Regions from separate parts of the Homo sapiens genome. Here region 2 is linked to region 1. Evidence: promoter capture Hi-C in human tissues and cell types (Jung and others, 2019). All regions are on one chromosome and are shown on one strand. The core of a region is centred on a gene start or on the middle of the fragment in contact, and the rest is flanking DNA. Distances in the headings are between cores, read along the strand shown.

What was found. The method cuts DNA at HindIII sites, captures the fragments that hold promoters and counts their contacts. A contact is called where the count stands out against the background at its distance.
Region 2: a contact is called between a fragment that was not itself captured here and the fragment with the promoter of EIF4G3 in region 1, in 2 of the 25 tissues and cell types used here (dorsolateral prefrontal cortex and mesenchymal stem cells).

What each region holds. Positions count from the first base shown.
Region 1 is chr1:21,174,812-21,178,758 of GRCh38, reverse strand. EIF4G3 (eukaryotic translation initiation factor 4 gamma 3) reads left to right here and starts at 1,862. Exons shown (of 37, transcript NM_001391906.1): 1 at 1,862-2,037; 2 at 2,401-2,584. RefSeq lists an enhancer at 1,898-1,947. The HindIII fragment of the contact is 22,917 bases long and covers 1-3,947 here.
Region 2 is chr1:21,366,193-21,370,122 of GRCh38, reverse strand. No RefSeq gene overlaps it. Among named protein-coding and RNA genes, the nearest start is that of NBPF3, 72 kb to the left of the region's middle. The HindIII fragment of the contact is 6,019 bases long and covers 1-3,930 here.

The DNA of each region.
Region 1 (3,947 bases), core at 613-3,112:
TCACGAATTAAGCATCCACTATGTGTAGAGCTTTATATGAATTAAAAACAACAATAGGCCAGGCGCGGTGGCTCACGCCTGTAATCCCAGCACTTTGGGAGGCCGAGGCAGGCAGATCACCTGAGGTTGGGAGTTTGAGACCAGACTGACCAACATGGAGAATCACCGTCTCTACTAAAAGTACAAAATTAGCCAGGCGTGGTAGCGCATGCCTCTAATCCCAGCTACTCGGGAGGCTGAGGCAAGAGAATCGCTTGAACATGGGAGGCGGAGGTTTCCGTGAGCCGAGATCGTGCCATTGCACTCCAGCCTGGGCAACAAGAGCGAAACTCCGTCTCAAAAAACAGCAACAACAAAATAGTAAGGCAGTGTGTGAAGCAGGATAGCAGGAGTCAGAACTAGACTCTAATCTTAGCTCTGCCAGCCACACTGTCGGTGCGACCTCGGGGAAGTCTTTTGTGCGTTTTGAGCCTCAATTTTCTCAGCTTTTCTGTGGTTTGATGGTATTGAGCCTCCCCAGTCTCAGTTTATTCATTTGTAAAATGGATACTACCTATTTCACAGGACTGCTTGAGATAATGAAGGGTACAGCGCTTAGTGCCATGTCTGGTAAATATTATATTAAAACTTGATTGCTCCATGACGCCTGCCATTTTTTTTTTTTTTTTGAGACGAAGCCTCACTCTGTCGCGCCCAGGCTAGTGTGCAATGGCACTCTCTCAGCTCACTGCAACCTCCGCCTCCTGGGTTCAAGTGATTCTCCCGCCTCAGCCTCCCGAGTAGCTGGTGCCTGCCACCACGCCTGGCTAATTTTTGTATTTTTAGTAGAGACGAGGTTTCATCATGTTGGCAAGGCTGGTCTTGAACTCCTGACCTCAAGTGATCCACCGGCCTTGGCCTCCCAAAGTGCTGGGATTACAGGCGTGAGCCACCGCGCCCGGCCGATGCCTGCCATTCTTTCCCACTCAATGCCACTGTGCTTAGGACAAGGCACCTGCTAAGGAGTGGGGTGTGCGGGGTTGGGGGTGGGAGTGATCTTGGCAGGTCTAGCTGGGAAGAAAATCCTTATCAACAAATGTCACCCAGCATAGGACATTGGGGAGCTGATCACTGGCTGCTGGTCAAAGGGCGCTCCAGTCCTGGGGAAGGCCTAGGTTTGAATCCATCCACAGAGCTCAGTTAAGGCTGCTGATTAGATATGGCGGCTCAGGTCATGTCCCCAGCCAATATGGGAGGCGGCAAGGTTCATCCAGATGAAGGTGGCATTTAGATTTAGGCTCTGTCCTTTCCCGATAGGGTGACCTTGGGCTAGTCACTTTTCCTCTGTGTCCTCTGGAAATGGGGCTCCTCATTCACCTCTCAGAGCGTCTGAGGAAGTGTCGACACAATGGGTGTGAAATGCGTGGGTTACAGGCCGGCGGGTGGCATTGGTTACGCGAAGTCCCCGCGGGGGGTCCCTATCCAACGGGTTCCATTCCGGTTAAGCGGTTCCTTCTCCAGGGGTTTTTCGCCTCGCCGCTGCCTCTCCGCCCCTGCGAGCGGGGCTCAGCGAACAGCCGACTCCGGGGCCATTACCATTGTTCTTCGAGGCTGGGCCGCAGGGGAGGACTCTCGCAAGCCAGACCTCGCCTTTGGTCTTTCCCTCCGCCCCGCACCCGCGCCGCTGTAAGCCAGCGAAGCCTCCCTCGCCGATCTTTGCCGAGGAAGCGAGTTAGCCCCTGAGCCCTCCCGAACGGCGGCCGAGGACGCACCCGAGCGTCTCCGAAGAATCCCGACCCCTAGCAGTCTCCGGAAAGAGCCGAAGAGGCTTCCCACCCTCGGTTTCCCGAGCCATTCCGAAAAAGTCCGAAGTTTTCCGAGCAGCCGTCCTGCCGGACTGCTGGAGGCGGCCACAGCGCCATGTTGGATGCTCTGCTCGTTGAGTGAAGAAAATCCACCGGCATCGCCTGAGCCCCGCTACCGAGAAGGGCGCCGCTTCCTCCGGGGAGGGGGATAAAGATCCCCCGCCGCCGGCCCATGAGGATATTGCCGTGAAAGGTCCGGTCTCTCCGCCTCCTGCCCCCGCCGGGTCCGGCCCCCCCCCTGGGGTCGCGTTGTCACGGAGACCGGCAGCCGGTGGTGCTGGCCCGCGGGGCGGCTGCTGCTGCCGGCGGCGGCGGCGGCGGAGGCGGCGGCGGCGGCGGCGGCGGCGTCGGGCGTGTGTGACCGGCCCCGGCCCCCTCCTCCTCCTCCCCCCAGGCTCCCCCCAGCCCCCCGCTCCCGCCGCCTCCCCGGGTCTGCCCCCATCCCGCCCCCCCGCTGCCCCCGGCCCCTGCACCCCGGCGCGCCCGGTCCCGCTCTGGGGGGGTTGGTGGCTTCGCTTTGCCATGAGTTTACCGCAGAAACCGGCTCTGAAATCAGGCACAGCGACTGCAGCAGGAACCGGACCCGGCACCGGAGCGGCGGCGGCGGCGGCAGCAGCGGTACCGCCTCCTCACCCGGCGGCGGCAGCAGCGGCGGCGGCGGCGGCGGCGGCGGCGGCGGCGGCAGCGGTCCCCCCTCCTCACCCGAACATCAGGGCCCTCCAGACTCAGGCGCCCCAACAGTATCCTTTTCACCTTCCTGTCGGCCCTTCGGTTCTCGTCGTCGCAGTCCAGGGGGACCCCGCAGCCCAGGGGACCCTCCTGCCGGCCGCCACAGCCCAGCCAGGAAAGGGACAGCGGCTCAAGCCCCTGCATCGGGCTTGGGCGGAGCTTTTGGGGTGCCCCGGCAGCAGCACTGCGGGGGGACCCCCAGACCCTCTGCAATACTGTGAAAGCTAGCCCCACTTGGCCATGCTTCTGCAGCCCCTTCCTTTTAGAGCTTGGGGTCCCTTCTCCCCTCCTCCCCTAAGGTACCCTCCCCCCCTTTATTGGGCAGAATTTGCTTGGTGCCTGGGACCAACCCTGCAGGGAAGGCTTTTCTCTGGTTGTTGTGAGGATTACACCCTCCTGCTCTTCACCTCCCCTCGGCTCCCCCTACAGCGGGACACAGTGGGCTTCCATAATTATTATTAGTACATAATAAACTTTATCGGTAAATTTCTTGTTTGAAACCAATCAGCTCGTTTCCGAGGTATGTTGGATTTTCAGTCTAAGGTGAAAATGTACAGAAAGCAGTTCCTCTGGATAATTTTTTTTAGTAATGGGAGAGTTGTGATGTGGTTTGTGGTAGAGATCTGAGGAGGAAATGTGACGCCGGACGCTTCCCTGTCTTTGACCTTTTTAAAGGAAGAGGAAGTTCACCGACATTACCCATCACCCACAAAAGTCTCACTTCTTGGAAGATTTGTGTTAGGCTGAATATTTTTAATGGGCTTTAATTTACTCCTCATAGGCCTGATGTCTAGAGAGTTACCAGGGCTTCTGGAGGAAAGTCTAGTATTGAATGTTTCTAATTTCATGTTATTTGCTCGATTGTAGAATTTTGGAGAGCTTTGATTGAAAAGACTTGGTGATGGGGTATTTTAGTCAAAAACTAGCCGGTGAAGGTAAAACGTTGAATTCATGTATTCCACGGAGATTTAGAAAGGTATTGCGTACCTGAGAATAACATTTCATCATGCATCACCTCCTCCCTACACCCACTGTATTTGTGTAAATCAATAAATAATGATTGGATGTTAGATGTGTTGTGTTTTTATGTTTGTGTCATCGTGCGTTTGACTTTTAGAGATTGTAGGATGTTTGAGCAAGTAAGAAGCTAACTGCTGTGAGGTCCCCAGATTATTTCACAGTCTGTAGTTTGATTCTTGTCTGTATAGATTACTTTGAGAAGGGAAAGCAATCTCCCTTCTAGAGTCATTTCAGGTCATTGTTTGTTTTCTGCCAAGTGTCATTTTCTCTGTTCTTTAAACCTAGTTCGTGATTTTCAATCCAGGCACCGCGGTGCAGTGTAAAGATAAATTCCATTCCAGTGTGACGTGTGTA
Region 2 (3,930 bases), core at 1,233-3,732, 190 kb before region 1:
GGCTCAAGTGACCCTCCCGCCTCAGCATCAGGCATACACTACCATGCCTGGCTAATTGTTTTATTTTTTGTAGAGATGGGGTCTCACTATGTTGCCCAGGCTGGTCTTGAACTCCTAGGTTCAAGCGATCCTCCCGCCTTGGCCTCCAAAAGTGCCCCAATATAATTAATAAGGAGAACGAGAACAGCCAACATTAGCCCAGCTCTCCCTCAGGAGTCAGAGCTGCACCGGGCTCTTTAAATTCATCACCTCCTTAAACCTTCTCTCCCACTTTCCACAACGTGGGATGAAACCTTTGCCATTCACTCCACACCCTCAATGCTCCTCCCACAAATACAGCCTGTATGGCCTCCCCAACTCTCAGAGGAGACCTCACAGTGCCAACAAAGTATGCAAAACTCTTACGCATATTTCTTTTTTACTTTGTGTTTTTTTGGAGATGGAGTCTTGTTCTATCGCCCAGGCTGGAGTGCAGTGGCGTGATCTCTGCTCACTGCAACCTCTGCCTCCCGGGTTCAAGTGATTCTCCTGCCTCAGGCTCCCAAATAGCTGGGACTACAGGTACGTGCCACCACACCCGGCTAATTTTTGTATTTTTAGTAGAGACAGAGTTTCACCATGTTGGCCAGGCTGGATTCGAACTCCTGACCTCAAGTGATCTGCCTGCCTTGGCCTCCCAAAGTGCTGGGATTACAGGCATGAGCCACCATGCCTGGCCTTATTCTCCTTATTTTAAAAGGGAGCTAACAGAGTCCTAGAATGTAAAGGGACTTGGCTGACATCCCCCAGCAAGTCAGTGAAGTTGCTGGGTCCCCTCTATGGGCCTGCAGACCCAGGTGTAGGATGTGGTGCCTCTTTACCATTCCTGGCTGCCAGGAGCTCCTAGGATGAGCCTGAAGCTATATGCAAATGTGATCATTTAAATTCACTATGACTCTGAGAGAGAAGGGTTATTCTCCCCACAACACAGGTAAGTGAGCCAATTCAGGCTCACCAGGGTCACAGGACTTATCCAAGTCACTGGATTGACAGGATGAACACTGGCTTCAAGCCCAGGCTTCTCTCTCTGTTCCTCCTACTATAACCAACTGCAGTCCACATATTTTTAGTGAGCACCTACTCAGTGCCAAGCACTGTGCTAGGTGCTGGGGAGGCAGCATGCATCAGCAGACACACCCCTTCCCTCCTGGTGCCCACATCACTGCCGGAGGAGACAGGAAACAGACGTGGAGACCGGCACAGTAATAATCAGAATCCCAGTATCAACCTCAGAAGCTTAGCAAAGTGTCACAGGGCTCCATCCCTGGCGTTCCCCTGTCTCCAGGCTTCTGGAAGTTTCTTCTGCTCCTTCACCCTTCATTCACCAGGGTTTCCCTAGCTCTCTAATAATCCCCATTCCCAGGCCTCCCACCTTGACCACATTCCCAAGTCTTCACTTTAGATCGCCACCAGGGGACAGCCGTGCACCGTGGCAGGTGGCTCCTCCTGCCAGCCCAGCTTGGGCCAGAGTTTCCACCAGAATCACAGACCGTGGGAAAGGAGAGGGGAGGAGAAAGGAAGAAAGGAAGGAAGGGAGGGGACTAAAGGGTGAACCAGGCTTCCCAGCGGGGGTGTCTTAGGGAATCAGCTCTGTCCAGACCTAGGGCAGTTTCTCAACTGTTTTCCCTCCTTATCTTCCTTCCACTTTATCTTCTCCTCGTTCATTCAATAAACTTTTTTTTTTTTTGAGATGGAGTCTTGCTCTGTTGCCCAGGCTGGAGTGCAGCAGCGCGACCTCAGCTCACTGCCACCTCCGTCTCCAGGGGTCACGCAATTCCCCTGCTTCAGATTCCCAAGTAGCTAGGATTACAGGCACGCACCACCACACCCGGCTAAGTTTTGTATTTTTAGTAGAGCTGGGGTTTCGCCATATTGGCCAGGCTGGTCTCGAATTCCCGACTTCAGGTGATCCGCCCAGCTCTCAGCTTCCCAAAGTGCTAGGATTACAGGTGTGAGCCACTGCGCCCAGCCCATTCAATAAACTTTTTAAAAGGCTTTGTTGAGATATAATGTATATGTCATAAAAGTTCACTCATTTAGAATGTACAATACAATGATTTCTTTTTTTTTTTTTTTTCTTTTTTGAGACAGAGTCTCGCTCTGTCGCCCAGGCTGGAGTGCAGTGGCACGATCTCGGTTCACTGCAAGCTCCGCCTCCCGGGTACACGCCATTCTCCTGCCTCAGCCTCCCGAGTAGCTGGGACTACAGGCGCCCGCTACCGCGCCCGGCAAATTTTTTTTTGTATTTTCAGTAGAGACGGGGTTTCGCCGTGTTAGCCAGGATGGTGTCGATCTCCTGACCTTGTGATCCACCCAGCTCAGCCTCCCAAAGTGCTGGGATTACAGGCGTGAGCCACTGCGCCCGGCCTAATACAATGATTTCTAGTATGTAGAGAGATTTATACAACCATTACTGTAACCCAATTTCAGGACATTTTTACCCCAAAAGAAACCTCGTACCCATTGGCAGTCACTCCCAGGCCTAGGCAGGTACTCCTCTCCTTTCTGTCTGTATAGATTTGCCTATTCTTGACATTTCGTATAAATAGGATAATGCAAAATGTAAACTTTTGTGACTGGTTTCTTTCACTTAGTATGTTTTCCAGGTTCATCCATGTTGTAGCATGTATATGTATTTCACTCCTTTTTATGGTTGAATAATATTCTAATGTGTGGATAGACCACATCTTGTTTCTCCATTAATCAGCGGATGGACATTTGGGTTGTTTCCACGTTAGGCTATTATGAATAATGCTGCTGTAAACATTTGTGTACAAGATGTTTTGTTTTGGATTTTTTTTTTTGAAACAGGGTCTCAGTCTGTCACCCAGGCTAGATTGCAGTGACACAATCATAGCTCACTGCAGCCTCGACCTCCTGGGTTCAAGCTATGCTCCCCCCTCAGCCTCCCATGTAGCTAGGATGACAGGCATTCGCCATCACACCCAGTTAACTTTATTTTTGTAGAGATGGGGTCTTGCTATGTTGCCCAGGCTGGTCTCAAACTCCTAGGATCAAGTGATCCTACCACGTCGGCCCCCCAAAGTGCTGAGATTAGAGGCATAACAAGGCTTTTAAAAAATACAGTTACAGGCCGAGCGTGGTGGCTCACACCTGTCATCCCAGCACTTTGGGAGGCCGAGGCGGGTGGATCACCTGAGGCCAGGAGTTTGAGACTAGCCTGGCCAACATGGGGAAACCCCATCTCTACTAAAAATACAAAAATTAGCTGGACGTGGTGGTGGGCACCTGTAATCCCAGCTACTTGGGAAGCTGAGGAAGGAGAATCGCTTGAACCTGGGAGGCGGAGGTTGTGGTGAGCTGAGATTGCGCCACTGCACTCCAGCCTGGGCGACAACGGCAAAACTTTGTCTCAAAAAAAAAAAATACAGATATAATTCACATACAATAAAACTTAGTGAACCGAGTCAGTGGTTCTTAATGTATTCAGAAAGTTGTGCAGCCATCACTATTATCTAATTCCAGAACATTTCATCATCTCCCTGAAACTTATGCTCATTAGCAGTCATTCCCCATCCGTCCTCCCTCCAGTACCTGGCAACCACAAATGTACTTTCTGCCTCTATGTATTTGCCTATTGTGACATTTCACACACATGAAATCATACAATATGCGACCTTTGTGTCTGGCTTCTTTTATTTGGTATAATGATTTTTAAGCTTGTACATGTCATAGCATGTCAGTGCCTCATTCCTTTTTGTTGCTGAATAATATTGCATTATAATGATGTACAACTTTCTTATTTTTTATAATTTGAGACAGTCTTGCTTTATTAATCAGGCTGGCATGCAGTGGAATCATCATGGCTCACTGCAGCCTCTAACTCCTGGGCTCAAGCAGTCCTCCCATCTCAGCTTCCCAAGTAGCTGG